3 separate regions of the Homo sapiens genome follow, and all the other regions are linked to region 3. The links are contacts of gene promoters, found by promoter capture Hi-C in blood cells and fetal thymus (Javierre and others, 2016). All regions are on one chromosome and are shown on one strand. The core of a region is centred on a gene start or on the middle of the fragment in contact, and the rest is flanking DNA. Distances in the headings are between cores, read along the strand shown. Region 1 overlaps HPSE2 (heparanase 2 (inactive)). Region 2 overlaps HPSE2 (heparanase 2 (inactive)). Region 3 holds the start of HPSE2 (heparanase 2 (inactive)).

What was found. The method cuts DNA at HindIII sites, captures the fragments that hold promoters and counts their contacts. A CHiCAGO score of 5 or more calls a contact.
Region 1: a contact is called between a fragment that was not itself captured here and the fragment with the promoter of HPSE2 in region 3, in 1 of 17 cell types (naive B cells). The highest score is 5.1, in naive B cells.
Region 2: a fragment that was not itself captured here is called in contact with the fragment with the promoter of HPSE2 in region 3 in 1 of 17 cell types (M2 macrophages); the score reaches 5.3 in M2 macrophages.

Annotation. Positions count from the first base shown.
Region 1 is chr10:98,771,369-98,774,909 of GRCh38, reverse strand. The region is part of intron 3 of HPSE2 (heparanase 2 (inactive)); the gene reads left to right. Among named protein-coding and RNA genes, the nearest start is that of MIR6507, 150 kb to the left of the region's middle. The HindIII fragment of the contact is 516 bases long and covers 1,342-1,857 here.
Region 2 is chr10:98,882,738-98,886,155 of GRCh38, reverse strand. The region is part of intron 3 of HPSE2 (heparanase 2 (inactive)); the gene reads left to right. Among named protein-coding and RNA genes, the nearest start is that of MIR6507, 40 kb to the left of the region's middle. The HindIII fragment of the contact is 543 bases long and covers 1,707-2,249 here.
Region 3 is chr10:99,234,370-99,237,853 of GRCh38, reverse strand. It overlaps HPSE2 (heparanase 2 (inactive)), which reads left to right and starts at 2,002. Exons shown (of 12, transcript NM_021828.5): 1 at 2,002-2,341. The coding sequence starts at 2,052. RefSeq lists enhancers at 424-924, 925-1,425. The HindIII fragment of the contact is 7,443 bases long and covers 1-3,484 here.

The sequences.
Region 1 (3,541 bases), core at 350-2,849, 460 kb after region 3:
TTAGAATCATGTCAGATGAATATCTACAAAATGGAAATTTTTATTCAATGAACTCTAAAGAGTCCCACGATGAAGGAGATGGGGCAATGCAAGAGGAAAGGGAAAAGCCTAGGTACTTCTTGCAGGGAAAGGAAACACTGAGCCCAGTGGGGAAGACTACGTGTTCAGCTGCCAGTACCGGTTACTTAAGGTTGACATTTTCCAGATCTTACTTCAGGGAAAGCAACACCTGATTTCACTTAAAACTGCAGCATCTGCCCTGCTGCTTTTTCCTGAGCAGCCCCATGCCTCACCCACCAGATCCATGAAGACTGAAGGAATGGAGGATACAATTAGTGGGGAAGGGGGTTGGGATGAATAGGAACCCCTTGAGAGCCTCCACCAGATTTCTGATCTGATTGTGCAGCTGACTTAGGTTTCTCCCACATGGATAACACTAACAATACAGTCAAGTCCCAAGAAGCAAGAGAGAGAAAGAGAGAGCTGACACAATCATTTAAACAGAATACTACTTTTTTTGTTGTTTGTTTTGGTAGTGGTTGTTGTTTTAATAGCTGTGGATGTCTAGCTTCTGTTTTCTGCTTGATATATGGAGCAAATAGGAATTTTTCTCTTGAATATATTAGTCTTGCCAAGGAGAACTGTAAAAGATGATCAGAGCACTAATACTCAATTATTTTGTTCTTTTTTATTCTAGTCCTTACTGTCTCTCTGCTTTTACTGTGTATGTGTGTATAGATAGGAATGTATATATGTATTTACAGACATATGAAAATATGTTTTAAGTATATATATTTATCCAAAAGTTGATCCAAATTTTCTGATGTTGATTTTTATCCTTTTTTTGCTACAGGATGTCACTCCGTCACCCATACTGGAGTGCAGTGACACAGTCATGGCTCACTGCACCCTGCACCCTTGACCTCCTTGGGCTCAAGTGATCCTCCCACCTCAGCCCCCCAGTAGGTGGAACTACAGGCATGTACCACAATGCCTGGCTAATTTTTAAAATTTTTTGTAGAGATAAGGTCTCACTATGTTGCCCAGGCTGATCTCAAACTCCTGAGCTCAAAAGCAATCCTTTCACCTTAGCCTCCCAAAGGCATGAGCCACTGTCCCTGGCCTCAAAAGATAAATTTTTCTATAGTACCTTTATTGATTGAATTTCATCGTATAGATTTATTTATTCACTCTTCTTTTTAGTCATCCTCTCTGTTTGCCGTGAAATAAAGCTGAGATGAACATTCTTATGCACTTGTGCATCCCATTCTGATTATTTCCTCAGAAAAAAATTTTAGAAGTGGAGATTTTTAGTCAAAGCATATATACGTTTTTAAAGCTTTTGATACATATTGCCAAAATGTCCCTTTCCAGAAGTGTTTTTGGAGACTTATAAGGATGACCCAACTTAAAATTTCCACATGCAGATTGGAGTTTACAGCAGGGAATTACAAATTATAAGGGAGATCACTGCTATATATCCTAAAAGTATCTAGACCAGTTTAATTGGGTAGTTATATTTGAAGACTATGCAATAGTAAGTCCTATCCACCCTTCTGGACTGGCTTAGAGAAAGAAAGACAATCTGATAACTGAACCTTTGATTCTCTATTGATGGTGTATTAATTAGAGAAAGGAACCCACAGGATCCTAGAGCTAGTCTCATTTAAAAAATTATAGGAGAATATAAGGATATAATGTTGTGTACAAAAGTAGTTAAACTGTAAAGGAATAGATTCTTGCATATGTCCCTACTGAATTAAATACTTCTGATACTCAGAATGCCCTTGACTGCTGGTTGGAGGCTCCTATGCCTCTGGCTAGGATCTTGAAACAGATCACCATAGGAAGAAAGCTTTTAAATGGAGGGCAAGTGAAGTAGAAGTTAAAGGCCTCCAAAAGAAGAGGAAATAGGTCCTTCCTAATCAATCATAATTCTTTGTTGACCTCGTGAGCTTATTTCAGCCTAATGGAAGAACTGTCCTTGCAATTCTTGCCTTTCCTAGAAACCTTCAGTCTAATAAATTCTTGCTTAGAATTTCAACCTCCTAGCAATAACTCTCATATCAACATTTTTTGCTAATTATGTTTTTGCCTGTAGAATTTGTACATGGAAGATTATTTTTTGTAGTCATGTCCAAGGAATAAAATCTTTCTCCTTATTTTTCATAACCATTCTTGTAGTGAATCAAATCAGTCAATAAGTAATAGGCATCTAATTTGCATTAAGCACAATTCTAGGATTCCACTTATTGCCTGGCCTCCATAAATTCCTCTGGAATAAGGAGGGCATGATAATACTTTGGGTTTCCAGGTGTCACTGTCTGCTCAGAGCCTGTATTAAATATTCCTCAAAATGTATTTGTTTTCTCCTTTTCCTTAGTTTACAGTCACCTGAGTAAATGACCATAGGTCCCTTTGAGGAAGGAGAATTATAATATATAATGCTACAGCACCCCTCCTAAAGTCCTGGCCATGTCTTCAGTCAAAGGGTTCTGGATCTGCAAATTGGCTCGGGACCAGGGACTAACTAGCAAAGGATCAGGACTCTTGATTGGGGCAACCATCCTCAGTTTCCCAGTCATCCATTTTTGTCTTTTTTTTGTGATTACAGTTGTTAACTAACACTCATGTAGTCTGCTCATCTATTATATTTGCCCCTGGGGATGTCATGCTCTGTTAACCATTTGTGTAACTGTCTGCCAGTCAAGGACCCTTGGCTGCCCCTCTGACCTTGCTAGTCATTATAGTAATTGTAACTTTTTGGCTTCTGGAAGTTAAGCACCGACACCTAAGGCTCTATTGCTTTGCCTCTCCAACCACCATCCTTACGGTTATTGCCCAGTCCAAAACTGGCCTGCAGATAACAGCCATCACTGAACTTCTTAGTGATGCTGTGTGCCTCTCACCAGCACATTCCTAATGGCCTTAGCAAATGGTGTCCTTTGGGTTCTCCCCTGGAACATCCTCTGATGAATCTTCTGTCCTTATTAATATATCCATTCCAACCACTTCCTTCAGTCTCTTTTATACATACCTGTCTTTACCATCTGCCAGGGCAACTCAGGTACTTCTACGTTGCTCAACATGGCTATTACTTTTTGCAGACCTCTAAAAGTCACCCTAGCAGGGAGTTTGCCCCATCCACTGGGATCCATGCCAGAGTGTTAAATCCCACATCTCAAGAGAGTAACCTGAAGTCACTGAATTCTTGGTTATCCAGTTGTACATCCTGGCCCCCTTGATCAAGCTCTTTCAAAATCCAATCCTAGGAGTATATCTCTGGCTCCTATTGATACATCTTAGCTAATTTTCATAACTCCTGGCTACATAGTCTCATTTGTTTTCTTAGTTGGGCTATCCTGGGCTTTAATTCTAGTTATCAGCCTGGTATCCAGGAGAGGAGGTGGGAGTGGCTCCCAAAGGGATCAACTGTTGCCTTGCAGGGATAGGCTTCTGCCAGGTTTTCCAACACAGGGCAGGTGCTACCTCTTATTAGGGAAGGGTGGTCACTAAACTCTGAGGGTTCAGGGAGGTCTTC
Region 2 (3,418 bases), core at 729-3,228, 350 kb after region 3:
GGAGGTGAACTAAGACCTCATATATAAACATCTTTATAAAATTCTTATTTTTGTGTATCTTAATATTGATACCTCAAAAGAAATTTTTAGTTTTGTTTCATCCTAAAGTTTTAAAAAGATGCTCATAAATTGACTATGAATTTTTTGGCAGATAATATGGATACTAAGAGGGTGTTTGTTTTTCAATAGCTGGCCCTTCATCTAAACTTTCAACACCTTTCAGATTTTATACTGTCTCCAGATTTCACCATAGTAACAGAGATGAAAGTAATTTGGATGGAGACCTGCCTCAGAGATACACAGGTTTGGTCCTAGACCACCAAAATAAAGTGAATATCTCAATAAAGCAAGTCATATGAGGTTTTTGGTTTCACAGTGCATATAAACATTCTGTTTATACTGTACTATAGTGTATTAAGTATGAAATGGCATTATGTCTTTAAAAAGTACATACATTAATTAAAAAAAAACTTTAGTGGCAAAAAATGCTGACAATCACCTGAAACTTCAGTGAGTTGTAATGTCTGTACTAGTGGAGGGCCTTGTCTCTATGTTGACAAATGCTGACTAATCAAGGTGGTGGTGGTTGTAGGTTGAAGTGGCTGTGGCAATTTCTTAAGATAAGACAGCAGTGAAGTTTGCCATATTGGTCAACTCTTCTTTTCATGAAAGTTTTCTCTGTAGCACATGATGCTGCTTGATAGCATTTTACCCACAGTAGAATTTCTTTCAAAATTAAAGTCAAACTCTGCAGTTGCTTTATTAAGCTTATGTAATATTTTAAATACTTTGCTGTCACTTCAACAATGTTCAGAGCATCTTCACCAGGAATAGTTTCCATCTCAAGAGACCACTCCCTCTGCTCATTCATGAGAATCAATTCTTCATCCATTAAAGTTTCATCATGAGGTTGTTGCAATTCAGTCACATATTCAGGCTCCACTTCTAATTCCAGTTCTTTTGTTATTTCTACCACATCTGAAGTTACTTCCCCCACTGAAGTCTTGAACCCCTAAAAGTCACCAATAAGGGTTGGAATCAATTTCTTCTAAACTCCTGTTAATGTTGCTATTTTGACCTCCTCCCATGAATCACAAATATTCTTAATGGCATCTAGAGTGGTGAAACATTTCCATAGGTTTTCAATTTGCTTTGCTTAGATCCATCAGAGGAATCACTGCCTATGGCAGTTCTGGCCTTACAAAATGTATTTCTTAAATAATAATACTTGAAAGTCCAAATTACTCCTTGATCCATGGGCTTCAGAATGGATGCTGGGTTAGCAGGCATAAAAACAACACAAGTCTCTTTGTACATCTCTGTCAGAGGGATCTCTGCAAGGGATCTAGGTTGTGTGCTCCTTACGAGAATCTAAGTAATGCCTGATGATCTGAGGTGGAACAGTTTCACCCTGAAACCGTCCTCCTCGCCAACACCCCACTACCTCCACCATCCATGAAAAAATTGTCTTCCACAAAACCAGTCCCTGGTGCCAAAAAGGTTGAGGACTGCTAGAGTAAACCATGCTGTAAACAGATGTGCTGTCATCCAGGTTTTGTCATTCCACTTATAGAGCACAGATGGAGTAGATTTTGCATAAATCTTAGAGAACCTAAGATTTTTGAAATGGTAAATGAGCACTGGTTTCAACTTAAAGTCCAGCTGCATTAGCCCCTAACGAGAGAATCAGCCTATCCTTTGAAGCTTTGAAGCCAGGCATTGACTTTTTCTCTCTAGTTATGAAAGTCCTAGAGGGCATTTTCTTCCAATAGAAGGCTGTTTCAACTACGTCGAAAATCTGTTGTTCAGTGTAGCCACCTTCAACAATTACCTTGGCTAGATCTTCTGGAGAACTTGGTACAGCTTCTACATCAGGACTTGTTGCTTAATCTGGTACTTTTATGTTCTGGAGATAGCTTCTTTCCTTAAACCTCATGAACCAACTTTTTCTTCAGCAGCTTCCTCACCTCTCTCAGCCTTCAGAGAATTAAAGAGAGGTAAGGCCTTGCTCTGGATTAGGCTTTTGCCTAAGGGAATTCTGTGGCTGGTTTGACCTATCTAGACCACTAAATCTTTCTCCATATCAGTAATAAGGTTGTTGAGCTTTCTTATAACTTCTGTGTTCACTGGAGTAGAAATTTCTATTTTCTTCAATAACTTTTTTCTTTACATTAACAAGTTGGCTAACTGTTTGGTATAAGAGGCCTAGCTTTGAGCTTTAGCTTTAGACATGCCTTTCTCACTAAGCTTAATTGTTTTGAGCTTTTGATTTAAAATGAGAAACATGTGACTCTTTCACTTAAACACTTAGAGGCCATTGTAGGATTATTATTTTATTTATTTTACTTTTTAGAGTTGGTGTCTTGCTGTGTCTCCCAGGCTAGAGTGCAGTGGTGCAATCATAGTTCACTACAGGCTTGAACTCCTAGGCTCAAGCAATCCTCCAGCCTCAGCCTCCCGACTAGCTGGCACTACAAGCACATGTCATTATGCCTGGCTAATTTATTTGTATTTTGTAAAGATGGGTCATGCTATGTTGCCCAGGCTGGGTTTGAACTCCTGGCCTCAAGTGATCCTCCTGCCTCAGCCTCCCAAATTGCTGAGATTACAGGTGTGAGCCACCACACCCAGCCAAGATTCTTAATTATTAGCTAGCTCTAAAAGTTTCTAGCCATTTTGGACATTGAAAAACTCTGCTTTATTACTACTGTAATAAAAGCTGTTATTAACTTACAGTGAATGTCTATGTTTTTAGAATAATTTTCATAGAATTATAAAGTTTCTTGGCTGAAAGAATTTTAGGTTTTAACTATCTTTCAAGCTAACCATATTTTCCATATGATTTTGGAATCTTCTTTATAACACCCATGCCTTGTGGTCACCTAGGTATTTACTTGGATACAAGCCATCATTGAGAAGTTTTTACTGTTAAAAAAGTTTTTTTTTAAATTGTGCCAAAATGTATATTCCTTTGATCTCTCAACCCACTACCTCTACCAAGGGTACCACATTTTTACAACAAATAAAACAAATCTTGTCTCTCTCTTCCATATGATAGCCCTTCAGAGCTAGGAAGATGGTCAACATATGGCTTTTCCTCTCCATGCAAAACTGCTCTTATTGCTTTAAACATTGATCACAGGACATGTTTGGGCGGAGGTGAATCAGACTGATAAAGTATACAATCTTCGGCATCATACTCTGAAGGTTCAAATCTTATAACAACAACCTGCTAATACTGTGATATTTGCATAGTTATTATCTCCTCTGTATCTCAGTTCCCCAAACTGTAATAGGGAAATTGTGTTTATTCCATAGTATTGTTGTAAAGAAATAGATAAATAATTCGTGTAGAGCACTGGGCTAGATTAGACAGTCATTGTTCTGAACTTCCCATAAACTCTCTGTGTTAAAATAT
Region 3 (3,484 bases), core at 753-3,252:
AAAAGTGTTTGCCCGCCAGGCTGTTGCCATCTCTAAGAGGTGCTCAATACATACTTAAAAATTACAAGAATTTCGACTGAAATTTATGTCACACCACACACCCATACACAGACACACACACACAGTTTAAAGGATCTAGATGTCTTAGAAATGTTCAGGAACTGAAGGAAACAGGCCTTAGGGCTGGAGCCAACATCCAATACTTCACTATGTAACAGCTTGATTTAAAAAAATCATCTTTAAATAATATGACTTGCATTTGCTTTCTCCCATATCCTCATCTTATGCAGTCCTATTTCTAGAAGGTCGTCATGGCGCTTCACAGATGAATGCAACATAATCTCGATTTCCTGGGTGCTTAGGTTGGTAGAGGCTTTTCAGGGAACTTCAGTTGAAGGTCATCTATTCCAGCTGTTTTCAGATTTGTTAATCCTGGTCTGGGTGGAGGTAAGAGGATACAGGTTGCTATTACAGCGTTTGCTGGGCTTTAAGACTAACCCTTGTCCATCCACTTCTGGGGAAAACCCTTGCTCTGCATTTTAGGGTTTTGCTTGTTTGATACCAAGGAGGGCCCTGGACGCTTCTGCGTTTCTGACTGCCCGCACTACATAAAGTAGTTCCCTTCATCTGCCAAGTAGAAGTCCCATTTTGTCTCAGAAAGAAGCCGAAAGTGGGGCCCAGCAATGTGACTGCAGCAAACTGTGCCTGATCCCTTTCCCGCGCTTCAGGATAGGACCTAGAGTTCAATTTGCAAGCTGTTGTGGGGTGGAAGCTCAATGAGCAGCGGCGGGTCGTGCATCACAGCGGCTTCCGGCTGTTATTCCCCATCCAGGGCTATGTGACTCTGGTTTTGACTGGGGGCCGAGATGGAAACCCGAAAGTGTCACTATGGTCCCATCTGGCACTGTAAAGGCGCACTTCCCTGCAGGAGGGCTAAGTATAGGATTGACCTCCAGGAGGGTCTGGAGGGGGGACTCTACCTGTGCAGCAGAATAGAGTGGCCAAGAAGTGGCACAGTTGGACGCAGAGCCGCCCTGACTATCCAAGCACAGCTCAGGTAGCTTCGACTTGGCCAAAGCCAGCATGTATTGACGCTCCCAAGACGCTTATTCCTCGGTTGCGGGAAGAGCAGAGCAGAGCGAGGGCGCATGTCCCTTTTGGCCCTCGGATCGGAAAAGCTGCTTGACCAGGTCACTATGTTTTTCCTTCTTGCTACTCTTTGCCCTATGGAGGTCAGAGGATGCTTCGGTGTGGCTATCCAACGCGTCACAGAGATCAGGGCTCCTCTTCGGGGAATGTCCTTCAGGGCTCTATGCTTTGACAGGAATCACCGCCTCAAGACCCCTCTGCAACTTAACCGCCCTTGGTATTGCTGCTTCAACCAGAAAAGGGCCCTGAGCGGACGAAGTGCCTGACGCTGTCAGGAGAAACAAGCGTGCTGTCGGTGGGAACTCTATCCCAGCGCGTCCCGGGTTGGCGCTGGGGCTTTCGGGTCGGAGTCGGAGCTTGAACCGCCCTCCAGAGCCTCTCAGGGAAGGACGTAAAAACGAGACCCTTTGCTCTGTACCCAGACGGTACAACGGCATGGTTTGGATTCCTCCCTCTGCTTCCTGACCCTAGAGGGTTAAATTAGGAGGGTACAACGCCACCCTTTTCTCCTCCTTCCCGCCTGCTCCCCTCCCCTTACCTTTAAAAAGTTAAAAAATGTCTGCAGTAGAAATCTCTTAAAGGGGCGGTGCCGGTGTACGAGTTCTCTTGGCAAGAGTCACGGGGAAGGCTGGCTAGGGGCGTGAGTTCGCTCCACCAGCACCAAAACACTGAAAAAAAAAATTAAAAAAAATTAAAAAAAAAAAAGAAAAAAACAAAACGAGCGAGCGAGCGAGCGAGAGAGAGAGAGAGCGGGAGAGAGAGAGAGTGTGTGTGTGTTGGGGGGGTGGTGGGAGGAAGGGAAAAAAAGGGGGGAAAAAGGCGGACAGACACACACTTTAGATAAGGACAATTAGTCACTAGCGAGACCCAGTAGGAAGAGAGGTTTAAATCAGAGGGATTGAATGAGGGTGCTTTGTGCCTTCCCTGAAGCCATGCCCTCCAGCAACTCCCGCCCCCCCGCGTGCCTAGCCCCGGGGGCTCTCTACTTGGCTCTGTTGCTCCATCTCTCCCTTTCCTCCCAGGCTGGAGACAGGAGACCCTTGCCTGTAGACAGAGCTGCAGGTTTGAAGGAAAAGACCCTGATTCTACTTGATGTGAGCACCAAGAACCCAGTCAGGACAGTCAATGAGAACTTCCTCTCTCTGCAGCTGGATCCGTCCATCATTCATGATGGCTGGCTCGATTTCCTAAGGTAAGGCAGGGGTTTCGATGGATCATTTAAAATTTTTTAGTAACACCCCCTCAAGCCCTTCCTATCCCCCATTCCAAAGGGGAAAGAAGAAAATAAGCCAAGCAGATCTCTCAAAGAGAAGAAAAGAGGTTTTCCTTCTCCTGGATTGTGTGCTGTGAGGCTGTAACTAGTGATTGAGAAAAGCAATGTTTTCTATTAAGATGCACATGTTTGCAATGCAGAAGGCATTTCAGAAACTTATCAGTTATGACTGAAAAAATGTTGTGCTTACATATATCCACAATTAGCCTTCCCGTCTACTTCTGAAAAAGAAACAAGAGGTTCAGAGCAGTTACAAAAGCGAAGAAAAGGTCTCAAACAACAAAGAGCTGAAAGGAATGGGTATGTGTGTGTGTGTGTGTGTGTGTGTGTATGTGAGACAGGAGAGTGTGTGTGTGTGAGTGTTCAAGCGGGATTGCACGAAACTGGAATTTTCCACGGAAAGATCGTTTCGTCAGTTCTCTCCCACTCTCAGAAAACGAATTTAAGCAGAGGCTTGAGTGGTGGGCAAGTTGGATCGGAGTTAAAATTTTTTATTTTATATCCTCCGCTGTCATTTCCAGACTTCAGGACTTTGTAAGGCGCTTTTTATAGACGGAATGCCCCCCTCCCCCCGCCAGTTCCTCCTCCTTAAATCTCCTGCGGTAACTGCACAGTTTAGCTTTTCTTTAAAGGAAAAAAAAAATCCTCGCTGGGGTCACAGCGTTATAAGGGAAGCGGTAAGAGTCCTAGAAATACTCCAGGGAGGCTTCGGAGATCTGAACTCCGCACCAGCAGATTAGCAAACCCGGAGGTTTGTGATCCCCTTTGCTCTAGGGCTTGTAATCTAATTGGGCTCACACTCTTCCCGGGTTGTTGCAGTTTGGCAGTTAGGCAACTGCGATCCCTTCCCATCAGGGACAGAGTTGCAGTGTAAAATAAGAAATAAATCCTCTGCAATGTCGAATCCAAGTGTTGAGTTTTTAAAAATTCCCTACAAGTTGGAGCCTCAGCTGTGGGTTCCCCTCGAAGAGCCCTCAGCGCTCTCAGTCCCACTTTGCCCCGAGGCCAGGTCCGTTGTGCGTCCTTCGTATTTTTCACTCCTTGCGAAATTCGAGTTTTGCT